Regions from separate parts of the Homo sapiens genome. Here all the other regions are linked to region 2. Evidence: promoter capture Hi-C in human tissues and cell types (Jung and others, 2019). All regions are on one chromosome and are shown on one strand. The core of a region is centred on a gene start or on the middle of the fragment in contact, and the rest is flanking DNA. Distances in the headings are between cores, read along the strand shown.

Region 1 (4,360 bases), core at 672-3,171, 470 kb after region 2:
TTACACTTGCATGATTATGGATTTTAATCCTGATTTATGTTGGGTTAAAGAAGTTTTAGTGCCTCCACTAAAAATGAGATAGAATATAGATGAACTACTCAGCTTTACTATGTATCCTGAATGAGTTAAGTACTCAAACAGTAAGAAATTACAAACATCTCTAACACAAATCTAAACACAAAATGCAGGAACCATATTCCTGCTATATCATTTGTCTTCCTTCTTGATTCGCTCATAGTACACAAATGTAGCAAAATCAATAAATATTGAACTCATGACATCACCTAAATGTGAAGTATTCCTGCCTTAGTAGTCTTCTAACAGTATGGTACCTGTGAATAAGTAAATTTCTTTATAATGATCTCTAAAACATGGCTTAAATTCTTTGGCCGCATTGAAATCTATAAAATAGTGCTTTCAATAAACCACTGCCTTGAGTTTGGAAATCGTTTTCTACACAAAGTCTTTGTTGCATTTGGAGAGGGGGAGGGATGGCATTTTTTTGTAACAGGATTTGACCTGTAACTATTATTAAGAATTTTCTTAGAGGAGTTCAAAGCATTTTACAGGGATCATCTCATTTATCCCTCGAAAGTAAGGCAGAGGCATTATCTCCACTACAGATTGAGAACACTAAAAGGCCAAGATAGGTGGGGCTTTTTGTTGTTGTTTTGCTAAGATCAAAAAGTAATTCTAGGGCAAAGCCAGATTCCGGTCTGACCTTGTTACATGATGCTTCTTGCAGCACCATAATACAATGTAGTTGCTTCCCTAGGTTTCTCTTTGGCTATGCTAGGTGTTGAATAATTTTCAGGGTCAATTTTTATTCTTCCCTGCTCCCTGAAAATGAGTGTTAAGATGTAGATAAGTACAAAAGAAAACTCTCCAATCCTTCCTACCTGGATTTGGAGTACAGGATAAACAGACAGAAATTGGCATCTTCCTCCCCTCCTCCAAGTTTTACTGCCTAGCCCAATGCTAATAGAAAAATAACCCGAGCCACAAATGCAAGTCCCATGTATAATTTTAAATTTTCTAGTAGTTACATTAAAATATATTGTATTTAGCCCAATACAGCGTATCCAAAATATTAACACTTCAACACGTAATCAATATAAAATTATTAATGAGATATTTTGCATTCTTTTTTTTGTATGGCTTCAAAATCTGGTGTGCATTTCTCACTTATAGCTCATTTCAATTTGTATTAGCCACATTTCAAATGCTCAGCAGCCACATGTGACGAGGGAGGACACTGTTGGACAGCACAGGTCTAGACCTCAGTAGCTCTCCCTTCAGATTAATGCCATGTGAATCGAATGGGTGGTATGAAGAATGGATGCTGAGTCCTTGGAGAATCCACTTGCACTTGGGTGGTGACTGATAAGAAGCCCTAGCTGTGCCATTTCCTGATACATGACTGTTTTTGAAGTTATGGACTCAGGATCTAGAAGACTGCAAATCCCCAAATACGTCTAACACCCAAGCTCACGCCAGGACCGTGCTTCCGGGCCTGTGTGAGAACCTAAGCTATGGAACCTGTCAACTTCTAGGGCTGCAGATTCGTTGGGCCCTCACATGTGGCCCGTGGAAAGGAGGCATCACTCGAGGAAGAGGAGGGCTTCTAGAGGGGCAAGGCCACCCAACTAGGGGCTTCTTGAGGGCAGGTGCTCCAAATGGCCGCTTCCTGAGGGCAGCGGGTCCTCTTGTGGCCTCAGGCAGGGCCCTGAAACCGGCCTCACGTGTTTGCAGCGCGAACTCCTGTGCTTCCACCAAGCGCTCTCGGGGATGCGGGGGTGGTGTCAGCGCCCCGGCCCCAGCCCGCACCCCGAAGTGGCTCCAAGGCTGCAGGTGTGAGGGGCGTGCCCAGGGCTCGGCCCGCGCCGCCCCATGTGACCCGGTCCGACATGGTGTCGCCTCCTCCCGGGGCGGCGGCGGTGGCGGCTCGGGCTGGGCTCCGCGTCGGGCCGGCCCCGCGGCCGCTCATGGGCAGCCAGGGCCGCTCGGGGCCCCCCGGGAACGGCGGGCCCGGCGAGGGCGAGGGCGGAGAGGCGAGGAAGCTGCAGGAAGGGAGGGTGGCGAGGGGGAAGCGAAGGAAGGGGAAGGGGAAGGGAAAAGCGAGAGCGGGGCAAGGCGGAAGAGGAAGCGGGGCGGAAGGGAAGCCCGGGCCGCAGACGGCGAAGGAGGCAGCCGGGCCGGGGGCTGACGCGGGAGCGAGGGCATGCCCAAGGGAGGAAGCAGAGGGAGGCAGAAGCGTGGAGGAAGGGGCGAGAGGCATCGTCAAGGGAGTCGAGGGGAGCGCAGGGGCCGGGAAGGAGGCACAAGGAAGAGAGTATGGGAAGAAGGAGGAATGGAGGGTCAGGGCTAGGCGGCGGGAGGGCGCCAGGCCGGGAAGAGCACAGGGACGAGGGGGTCAGGCTTGGGCCGACATCGCGGGGACAGGGGTGGCCATGGCGGCGGCGGCCGGGGAGGAGGAGGAGGAGGAGGAGGCGGCTCGGGAGTCGGCTGCCCGCCCGGCCGCGGGGCCTGCGCTCTGGCGCCTGCCGGAGGAGCTGCTGCTGCTCATCTGCTCCTACCTGGACATGCGGGCCCTCGGCCGCCTGGCCCAGGTGTGCCGCTGGCTGCGGCGCTTCACCAGCTGCGATCTGCTCTGGCGCCGGATAGCCCGGGCCTCGCTCAACTCCGGCTTCACGCGGCTCGGCACCGACCTGTAAGCGTCCGCTCGCCCGCCCGCTCCCCGCCCCGAGCCGGCCCCGCGTCCCGGGAAAGGGCGGGGCGCCGCGGCCTGGTCGGCCCAGGGTCGTGTCGCACCCCGAGTTTCTAGGCCTACACCTGACCTCCGCCTACACCCTTTCCCGAGCACTCTCGGGGACCCCTTTGCCCCTCCTCCCCAAGGCCTCCATCTGAGGCAGCCTCCCGAGAGCATCCCTCAGTAGGCACCCTCCCGGGTGGGCCGCTCCTCACAATTAGCCATCTTAGGCACTCCCTACAGCTTTCGATTGTGTGTTTTTGCAGAGGTTTAGCTGCCCCGGTTCCTTCGCCCCAGAGGAGCCAGTCTGGTACGGTGCTTTGGACGATTCCTTGAGTCCAGGTCTAGGACTCAGGTTCCTTAAGTGGTCTATCATAAATTTTTGTGGACTTTCATCTTTCATCCTCCCTACCCTTTTCTAAAGGTTGTTAAGCTTCAGGGCTCGGACCTTAAGAGAAGCCCTCGGTCCCAGTGTTCAGCCATAGTTTATGACTTCATATAGGCAGAGCGACACGAAAAAGGGGGCCTGCTTGAGGCAGGAGGCTGGAGTCTGTCCAGGATGTGTACAAGACATGGTATTGCAATTTGGCCTGTTTTTGGTAGGGTCTGAGACCTGTGAATGAAAAACTTTTCTGAACCACTTAAACTGTTAAATAGGAAGGAAAAAACATGTAGGGAATTGGGGGAATAAGAGCTTTCAGATTGCCCCCTATTCCACCCATTTTTTAAAAAGTAGTTCTTTCTAGTACATTATGACAACATTAAATAACGTTTTTAAAAACATAAAAAGCCATAATACCATCACCTCTAGACAATTATTTTCATTTAAAAACCTTTTCAGTTGCACATATAATTGCTATCTTACTGATCCTAACAGAATAGGTACATAGTAAATGTTTGTGGGCTGTCGCATAATGAGATTAAAGAACATCCCTCTACTATTAAACTTACATGTAGTGTTCAGCTTTTTGTTATTATAGATAATAATGAAATAATGCATTTTTGAGTAACAGCTTTACTGAAATATAAGTCACATGTCATTACCATACATATTTTTTAAAAATCAGTTCCTTAGGATAAAGTCTCAAGGTGGCATTATAGCAAAGGTTATGGTTTGCAGAGGTGCTGTACCAAATTATAGTGGGACCAGCACAGAGTGAACAAATTTTATGTGAGAATTTAGAAAATCTTTGCCACTTTAGTGGTCATTTAAGGTACCAAAGTTGTGTTATTTTGCATCTCTTTTACCACTGGCTGGGATAAATATATTCCCATGTGTTTGTTTCACCTGGGAGACTGTCTCTTCCCACTCTTTGCCCATTTATTACTGGGGTCTTCTTGTTTTTCCTATAAATTTGGAATCTTTGTGGGTCTTAGATGTTAGAATCTAGTCTGTCATCTTTGATCCAGATATTTTTCCCAGTCAATTCATTTTACTTTACTGTTTTACACTTTATTAGGCTCTGCCAGTCTTTTGTGATTTTTTTCTCTTTTTCTCCCCAAAGCTGAGAAATTTATAATTCCTCCACAGACCTGATAAATCTGTTTCCCACTGGTTTTCTTACAAATTTGATTTTTTTTTTTTTTTTTTTTTTGAGACGGAGTTTCACT
Region 2 (4,464 bases), core at 1,955-4,454:
GCCCCTGAGTATCCGTGTTTCTTTTTATTTTTTATATTATACTAGGGTAAGTTCTAGGGTACATGTGCACAATGTGCAGGTTTGTTACATATGTATACATGTGCCATGTTGGTTTGCTGCACCCATTAACTGTCATTTACATTAGGTATATCTATCTCCTAATGCTATCCCTTCCCTCCCCCCACCCCACATTAGGCCCTGGTGTGTGATGTTCCCCACCCTGTGTGCAAGTGTTCTCATTGTTCAATTCCCACCTATGAGTGAGAACATGCGGTGTTTGGTTTTCTGTCTTTGTGATAGTTTGCTGAGAATGATGGTTTCCAGCTTCATCCATGTCCCTACAAAGGACACGAACTCATCCTTTTTTATGGCTGTAGTATTCCATGGGGTGTATGTGCCACATTTTCTTAATCCAGTCTATCATTGATGGACATTTGGGTTGGTTCCAAGTCTTTGCTATTGTGAATAGTGCCACAATAAACATACGTGTGCATGTGTCTTTATAGCAGCATGATTTATAATCCTTTGGGTATATACTCAGCAATGGGATTGCTGGGTCAAATGGTATTTCTAGTTCTAGATCCCTGAGGAATCGCCACACTGTCTACCACAATGGTTGAACTAGTTTACAGTCCAACCAACAGTATAAAAGTGTTCCTATTTCTCCACATCCTCTCCAGCACCTGTTCTTTCCTGACTTTTTAATGATCGCCATTCTAACTGGTGTGAGATGGTATCTCATTGTGGTTTTGATTTGCGAGTATCCGTGCTTCTAAGTTCCTCAGATGATTCTAATTTTCAGCTGATGTCTTAGGAATCGCTGATTTAGACCAGGGATTGGCAAACTTCTTCTGTAAAGGGCCGCATCCTAAATATCTTAGGCTTTGTGGGCCATTGATAAGATCTCTGTCACACATTCTCTTTTTAAAAGACCTTTACAAATGTAAAAACCATTCTTAGCTCCTAGGTAATACAAAAACAAACCATGGGCTGGATTTGACCCATAGGCCATTTTGCCAACCCCCAATTTGGACTATGCGTAGGCTAGAATATAGCCTGGAAAAGGCACCGTGAGACAAGCTGCTGCCAAAAAGCCTCTGCAGTGAAATCACAGGTCTGGACCCCAGTCCTATAACTGGCACCAAAGTTGTTCTGGTTTGAGTAGGGGGTGGGAGGGGTTTAGACTCACAATAATAAAACTCCCAAGACACATTATAAACCAGCCAGTTTATTATTTTGTAGTAAGATTTAGAACTTTTACCATGCAGACTGAAATATCTGTGTCAGCATGAACAGTACATTTTCTTCCTAGAGGCAGTTACATGGAAAACCAGGTTATTATCAGGTTATTTAGCAAGTATGGAATCCAAACAAGAGGAGACTAATCTTAAGACCTATAACTCGTCCATGAAGGCTTGGGGCACACTTTTCTACCACCAGAATGCCTTAGCTTCCAGAAAGCTGTGGACTCTTCCCTCTCCGTCTTGGTCTGGCTGAGTACCGCTACTGCTCAGTCACTTCCTGCAGCCATACCGTCAGGCCAGCTTGGCCTAAAAGCTGTTATCTCTGGTCACTGGTTTGTGTTGTTACAGCCACTGCTACTAACAGTTAAGGTTCTGAAGGGGGCATGTCAATTGCTCCCAGGTACCAACTAGGAGACACAATAATCCTATTAGTTTGTTCTCCCAAACCCACTCCAGTTTATCAGGTAATATGCTCTGTAAGGTTCTTTCCAACCCCATTAGCACATACATAGATTACCTATAATTTCACCTAATGTAATCTACCTTCCTACTGAGGATTGAGGTTTTAACGTTTGTTTTTTTTCCCCCCACTTTCTTGATCAGTGATTCTCAACCATGTAGGAATTAATGAAACCAATTCTGTATCACCACTGCAACCAAGACAGCAATACCAAGTGATATGTATTTTTCAAACTCATGTCATTTTGTTCTCTATACTGTAAAAAACGAGAAGATGCAGTCCTCAACTTAGAACTCAATACTAGGAAGGGTCAAGTTGTCAAAAAATGTCTTTCAACAGTAGAAAAGTTTGCTTTCAAATTAAAAAACAAAGCACGTATTGCAAACATCGTGTAATGATAAAATTACAGAAAAAAATATATTCAGAATGACCCATGGCATTCACGCCATACCAGAATTTTGCCTGTAACAAAACAGAGAATTTTATCCCAAAAAGTAGGTTAGGTCCATGCTGGCTAAAAACTTCAGTCCCAGACCCAATAAATGAGGATGAAATACATAGTGCATGCTTAACAGACATTGCATATACATCAACAATTCTTTAATGCCCCTCTCTAGGGTTTTGAGGGAAGGAGGGATGAAATGTGGACATGTGCACTCACAAAGGCAGAATTTTCTTCCTATTATAAAAAGTCACACGTGACCCTTTACTATGTTTTGGGCAATAGCCAAGATTTTATCTGTGGGAATCCACCTTTGAAAATCACAACAAAAATCAATAGTAAGTGATTTAATATAAAATATACAAATTTCTCAGTATGAGGACTTTCACAGAAAAGGAAGGAGACAACAATGAAAATGAATTTTCTTAAAAAATAACATTCCCTTATTTTGTCCCTGCTACTCAACACTCAAAAACAAGTCTGTACAAAACTAGGAACACAGAAAAGGACCAGAGAGGATGTTACACTGTAAAGTCTTAGGACCTACTCTAAACTTCTGTCCTCATCAAGACCCTCACCTAGAGACCTGAGGGTTCCCAGGTCCACTGGAGAAAGTAAGTAGTCTCCGATCATCACCCTTGCTTCACCGAAGATGGCCTCAGGTCACTCGCTGTCAAACTTAATAGAATTGACCTGGACAGAGATTGAGCCTCCCCGGTAGCTGCCCCGCTTCTTCTTGGTTTTCTCATGCCGAAAGGACTTGCCTTTGGTGAACTTCAAAACCTGATTGGCTCGCTCTCCCCAGTCTCCGGCTGCACCTCGCTGGTAAGTAGAGAGGGAGATTAACACAGAGGAGGACCATGCTGGAGCCCTGTCACTTTATTCTTTCTACTCCCTGCTCAAGGAAACCTGAACCCAGAGAAGATTCCCACCAACCTGAACCAAGAATTGTCCTCTCTGACACTACCCATCCTCCCTCCCAAGAATGGCACAGATCTCTCTCTCACCTTGGCATCAAAGGAGTTGTCCGCAACTCGTGAATCCACCTCAATTTCCTCCTCCCTGACCCTTCGGAATGGGGATGATGCCCTTTTTTCTCCCTACAGAAGAATGAAGTAGGAAATTAAAGACAGAGTGGTCATGTAACAGTTCTCCTGAGTGATACACATGGGCACATGTACCAGGTCACGCCAGGCAGAGCTGTCAAGATGATCCTAGATTTTTCTACTTTTAAAGAGCTGGCTCCTGAGAAGAAAGTGAGACAACTTACTTTCTTCCTTTTTGGAAATGTGTTAGGGGTCTGAAGCTTTATCTTCTTGGCCTGAGGAGTCTCTGCCTCCTTGGCAGCCTCATTCTGCTTCCGCTTCTTTAATGAACCTACAAAACAAAAAGCCAGACTCAGGCCGAGTACAGTGGCTCACAACTGTAACCCCAGCATTTTGGGAGTCCAAGGTAGGAGGATCGCTTGAGCCCAGGAAATTCAGATCAGCCTGGGCAATATAGTGAGATTCTGTCTCTATAAAAAGTTAAAAAAATGAGCCAGACATGGTGGTGCATGCTTGTAGTCCCGGCTACTCAGGAGGCTGGGGTGGAAAGATCACCTGAGTCCATGAGGTTAAGGCTGCACAAGCCGTGATCATGCCATTGCACCCTGGTCTGGGTGACACAGTGAGACTCTAATAAAAAAAAAAAAAGGTAACCAGTTTCCTGTTCTTCCTCCCAGTTTCCACAACTGGAAGCCCAGTGGTGGGCCTCCTCTCACTACCCTACTCTCAAAGAGTATATCCCATCCTGATTTGGGGGGACAAAACCCAGAGGGCATGTTCATTGGGTACAGACCTGATTTGGAAACTACCACTGCCGCCTTTTTCTTTTCTTCTTCCTCCTCCTCACTGTTCTTAGCTGCTTTTCCATTCTGGGCAGTCAGTGCAGAGGTGCCATTGGCCTTGGGGGCTTGTGGTCTTGGAGAGCCCTTGCCCTTGAGCTTCTCTTCCTCTTCCTCACTGGAGTCATCAGAAGAAGAACTGTTGCTGCTCTCAGCCTTTCCTTTCTTTGCAGAGGCTGGCTTGGAAGGGGCTGCACCTCCTGCTACCTTCTGTGGCTTCTTCTTAACTGCAGACTTAGATGTCTTCTCTTCCTCCTCCTCACTGCTGGAGCTGTCTGAATCAGAGCTGCTGTCCCTACTACCCTGAGGAGCCTGCTTGGCAGGCAGAGATAGAGCTGCTTTGGCAGTCGCCTTGGGCTTAGTGGTGGCCACCATCTTCTTTGTCTTCTCCTCCTCACTGGAGCTGCTCTCTTCCTCACTGGAGCTGCTGTCA
Region 3 (4,873 bases), core at 1,554-4,053, 290 kb before region 2:
TTGTCAAAAAGAAAAAAAAAAAGAAAAAAAATTCTGATCAGGCCGATGCTTGCTTGCACGTGCTAACCACTCACTTTTTGCCCAATATTCCTTGTTCCCACAATATAAACTGCTGATGTGCTGTTTCTTGGTCAAGCAGGAAGAGGTAACTTTGTGGTCATGAAAAAAAATTGCAGGCCAGGCACAGTGGCTCATGCCTGTAATCCCAGCACTTTGGGAGGCCGAGGTGGGTGAATCACCCGAGGTCTGGAGTTCAAGACCAGCTGACCAATATGGTGAAACTCCGTCTCTACTAAAAATACAAAAAATTAGCTGGCCATGGTGGCGCATGCCTGTAATCCCAGCTACTTGGGAGGCTGAGATAGGAGAATGGCTTGAACCCGGGAGGCGGAGGTTGCAGTGAGCCAAGATCCCCGCCATTGCACTCCAGCCTGGACAAAAAGAGCAAAACTCCGTCTCAAAAAAAAAAAATTGCAGGAATGAATGCCTTGAAGGACGTTGTGACCAGCTGCTGATGCCCAGAAGTCTGGTGGCTCAAGGGGTTATCTGAGACTGAAGAAACACAGACTTTTACCCTGGGTTCCCTGAAATGCCCCCTCCGTCACTCCTTAGTCACATTAAAAACTCCCTGCTGCTTTTTGAGACAGGCTCTCAGTCTGCCACCCAGGCTGTAGTGCAGTGGTATGAACACAGCTCACTGCAGGCTTGACCTCCTGGGCTCAAGTGATCATTCTGCCTCAGCGCCCCAAGTAACTGGAACTACAGGCACATGCCACCATGCCTGGTTTTTTTTTTTTTTTTTTTTTGTAGAGCCGGTGTTTCACCATGTTGCCCAGGCTGATCTCGAACTCCTGAGCTCAAGCAGTCCACCTGCCTCAGCCTCCAAAAGTGCTAGGATTACAGGTGTAAGCCACCCTGCTGCTTTTTTTCTGTTAATAGGGATTTGAGAGATTTGCTCTCCCGCCTTCTCACTTTGGCCAAATCAAATAAACCTTTCTCTATCTCCCACTGTTTGGCCTTAGCTGTGCATCAGGTTCACCAGCCTGAATCTGGGTTTCTATGACAGTGTTAGAGTCCAAATGAAACCCTAACCAGGCCCCTTTTTTCCATCCACAGCCCAGCCCCAGCACCTGCCTTCAAAAGGACTGGCCCGAATTAAGACTTGGAGCAGTGGCTCAGTCACGAATAGCATGACATCACCAGGGTGAGTCACCAAATGGTGGCCACCACCAGAGGGTAGCTGAGTTTTGAGGGATACTGAGAACCCAGAAGAACCTTTCTGTCAGGGCTGCTGGTGATACTGCTTCAGTCAACAGGAGATGGGGAAGGAAAGTGTGGCAACATGGCAGCCCTGCAGCTGGGAGACGGTTTCAGTTTTAATCATCCATAACTACCACTCTCCCCACTGGAGAAGGAAGAGGTGCAGGGGTTGTGACCCACACCAGAAGGGACTGGAACTCAGACAGGGCTCACCCCATCTGGATGAAGCAATCTTCCTGCCTTCACTCAAATGGCTTCTGGCCTTTGACATCAGTTGGACTGGGTTCAAATTCCACTGTGGTACTTACAGGCTGTGTGAACCTGGGACAGTGGCCTAACTTCTCTGAGCCTCTGGTTCCTTATCTACTAAAAGAGCATGACATCACTATGCACTTCACATAGCTATTAAGAATTTAAAGTAGGCCGGGCGCAGTAGCTCATCCTTGTAATCCCAAAACTTTGGGAGGCCAAGGTGGGCGGATCACGGGGTTGGGAGTTCAAGACCAGTCTGGCCAATATGGTGAAACGCCATTTCTACTAAAAAATACAAAAATTAGCCAGGTGTGGTGGGGCACGCCTGTAGTCCCACCTACTTGGGAGGCTGAGGCAGAAGAATCGCTTGAAGCTGGGAGGCAGAGGTTGCAGTAAGCCAAGATCGTGCCACCGCACTCCAGCCTGGGCGACAGAGCAAGATTCTGTCTCAAAAAAAAAAAAAAAAAAAAGGAAGAAAAGAATTTAAAGCAGCCGGGCGCGATGGCTCACGCCTGTAAAATCAGCACTTTGGGAAGCCAAGGAGGGTGGATCACCTGAGGTCAGGAGTTCGGGACCAGCCTGGCCAACATAGTGAAAACCCCGTCTCTACTAAAACTACAAAAATTAGCAGGAGGTGGTGGTGCACCTGTAATCCCAGCTCCTCGGGAGGCTGAGGTGGGAGAATCGCTTGAACCTGGAAGACGGTGGCTGCAGTGTGCCGAGATCATGCCGCTGCACTCCAGCCTAGACAACAGAGCAAGACCCCATCTCAAAAAAAAAAAAAAAAAAATTAAAGCGCTTATGTAACATTCTAGAGTGGGAGGACTTCGAGACAGTCTGCGAGAAGCTCCTGCACAGGTGGGCAATAAGACCAACATTGTGAGCCTGAGTCTTGAGACAGACTGGGGGTTGAATTTTGCCCTTACTATAGCCAGCTGTGTGAGTTGGGATGAGTTATTTAACCTACATAAGCTCCAGTCACTGAATACACTGGACACCAACTGTGAGGCAAGCAGCTTTTTGCTATGGAAAGCAGGGGTAATATCAGTACCCCCCTTCCTCGGATCGACATAACTTGCAGTTAGATGCTCCCAGACAACTCGATTCAGTGTCTGGTGTGCAGGAGTTTCACTCAAATGTGAGGATAACCCAATCCACCTGCAGGCGCTGGGAGGCTGGGGTGTAGTGACTGGGAGCTAACCGGATTAGACAGCCATCAGTAATACTGTAGGAAGGGCATCCTTGTAGGGTGGGGCCACTACGACCAGTACGGCTCACCCAGGTGTAGACAGACGCTGGTAGCTCCTGGCCAGCTCAAGGTGTTTCCTTTTGCCTGGTAACCAGGAGGAGTGGCTGAGGCAGGGCATGGAGCGGAGCAACGCAGCTACAAAGTGCGGAGAGGAGCCCCGCTCTGGATCCCGCCGGCTCCCCAAGGCTGAAGGAGACAAGTGAGTGGGGAGTCACTGGGAAGAGCATCCCGGCGGAGGGCTTGAAAAGGCTCCTTATTGTCTGCTGGGAGCCTGAGGCTCTGCCCGACCTTGGGACAAGAGGCTAGGCGGGGAGCTGAATGTTCGATTTGGGATGAATTCCCCCAAAGCCATGAACCGGCGTCCCGGGGAACCGGCCCACAGGGACAGGAGGCGGTTAAGTAGAAAGTCTGTCTACATATCCCTTCCTCCGCCGCAGGTCTGGATCCGCAGGAGCCCCCAGTAAGAACAGCAGCCGCCTGGGGGGCCGACCATGTATGTGTACAGCTGGCCGCCGCCCAAACAGGGCGTCTGGCCGCCGCCGCCGCAGCTGCTCACCTGCACCTACCTGGCCGCCCCTCTGCTGCTACCCCCAGTCCAGGCCCACAGCTTCCGCAGCCGGCCCGGGAGCCTGCATGCGGGCGAGTGGGCGGCCCCACGGGAATACCACCGCTTCTACGGCCCCGCCGCGCCACCCGAGGCCGCGCCGCCCTGGTGGGCCTGCCCTCCGGCCTACGCCACGACCCTGCGCCGGCCCTGCGCCGCCGCCGGCATCTCGGGACTGTCGCTGCAGGCGCCCGCGGCGGTGGCCGAGAGCTGGGCGCCGTGGCCGGAGGGCGGGAGCCTGCAAACCGAGCTGCGCTGGGGCCGCGTGGAGCGCGCGCGGGGCCCCCCTCTGCAGCTACCGGACTTCGTGCGCCGGGAGCTGCGGCGCGCGTACGGCACCTACCCCCGCGCCGACGTGCGCGTCACCCAGCGCCGCGGCCAGTTCCTGCTGCAGGCGACGCCGCGCGTGCTCGAGCCCGACCACCGCGTGGAGTGGCGCGTGCGGCGCCGGCCCGACAGCGGCGACAGCAGCCCAGCCCGGGAAGCCGCGGAGCGCGGCCGCCCCAGGAAGAGCAAGGGCCTGAGCTGAAGCCGCCGCAAGGCCTAGGGGCGGGCCCGCGTGCACGCGCTTGGCTCTTTCCTGTGTGTGCCGCCGCCGACAGGCAGAAGTGAGCCCTCACCTGTGCGCGGGAGGCGGACGCGCTGCTCACCTGTCTTTTTGGCTTCTCCCATGACTGCCGGCCAGTTTCCTGCACTTGTTTCTCTCGCTTTATTGCTGGACGGTGGGAGAAGGGCAAGTGCAAGACGGAATCGAGGGCACCTCTGGGTGTTCTGTACCTCTTTTCTTCTTGCACCTTGGGAAGTGGAGGACGTGGGATGGAAGAAGGGCCTGGACCTCCCTCCTTCCTCCTCCCCACCTTCTCCTAAGGAGCTTGCCCTGCAGTAAGCCCCAACTTTCCCTTCCTCTTTTCCCTCTATCAGAGTCGTCGCCCACCCCCCTTTCCCACCGCTCCCCTACCCCCGCCTTCCTGCCAAGCCGAGGGCGACGGTGATCCCCAGCTTAGTAAGAAAAGTAAATAGGCCGGGCGCGGTAGCTCACGCCTGGAATCCCAGCACTGTGGGAGGCCGAGGCGGGCGGATCGCTTGAGCCCAGGAGACCAGGTTGGAGACCAGCCTAGGCAACATGGCGAAACCCTGTCTCTACAAAAAAAAAAAAAAAAAAAAATAGCCGGGTGTGCTGATACACTACTGTAGTCCCACCTACTCGGGAGGCGGAGATGGGAGGATCACCTGAGCCCGAGAGGGCGGGGCTGCAAGGAGCCGCGAACGCACCACTGCACTCCAGCCTGGGTGACTGAAACCCTGTCTCAAAAACAAAAACAAACAAAAAAAAAAACAATAAATAAATGAGCGAAGTCAAGTATACACTGCGAGATCATTGTTATGTTTTGGGGTGGTGTTTCTCCATCTGTTTATCTGTTTAATGGGAGTCTTACCGCCCACCCTGGGGTACAGGAAGGTAGGGTGGAGGGGCGTGAAGTTGAACTGGCCCTCTGGAGAAAGCATGT

What was found. The method cuts DNA at HindIII sites, captures the fragments that hold promoters and counts their contacts. A contact is called where the count stands out against the background at its distance.
Region 1: a contact is called between the fragment with the promoter of FBXW4 here and a fragment that was not itself captured in region 2, in 1 of the 25 tissues and cell types used here (liver).
Region 3: the fragment with the promoter of C10orf95 here is called in contact with a fragment that was not itself captured in region 2 in 1 of the 25 tissues and cell types used here (dorsolateral prefrontal cortex).

What each region holds. Positions count from the first base shown.
Region 1 is chr10:101,692,731-101,697,090 of GRCh38, reverse strand. FBXW4 (F-box and WD repeat domain containing 4) reads left to right here and starts at 1,921. Exons shown (of 9, transcript NM_022039.4): 1 at 1,921-2,710. The coding sequence starts at 1,986. RefSeq lists silencers at 1,752-2,031, 2,062-2,111, 2,392-2,851 and an enhancer at 3,162-3,241. The HindIII fragment of the contact is 7,927 bases long and covers 1-4,360 here.
Region 2 is chr10:102,160,615-102,165,078 of GRCh38, reverse strand. It overlaps NOLC1 (nucleolar and coiled-body phosphoprotein 1), which reads right to left. Exons shown (of 13, transcript NM_004741.5): 10 at 3,986-4,464; 11 at 3,417-3,523; 12 at 3,154-3,246; 13 at 1,209-2,968. The coding sequence ends at 2,810. Among named protein-coding and RNA genes, the nearest start is that of NOLC1, 10 kb to the right of the region's middle. The HindIII fragment of the contact is 5,920 bases long and covers 245-4,464 here.
Region 3 is chr10:102,449,473-102,454,345 of GRCh38, reverse strand. It overlaps C10orf95 (chromosome 10 open reading frame 95), which reads left to right and starts at 2,803. Exons shown (of 2, transcript NM_001363580.1): 1 at 2,803-2,960; 2 at 3,199-4,509. The coding sequence starts at 3,253. The coding sequence ends at 3,894. C10orf95-AS1 (C10orf95 antisense RNA 1) reads right to left here and starts at 4,529. Exons shown (of 3, transcript NR_038938.1): 1 at 4,324-4,529; 2 at 4,016-4,159. RefSeq lists an enhancer at 2,154-2,836 and silencers at 3,359-3,848, 3,889-3,968. The HindIII fragment of the contact is 10,367 bases long and covers 1-4,469 here.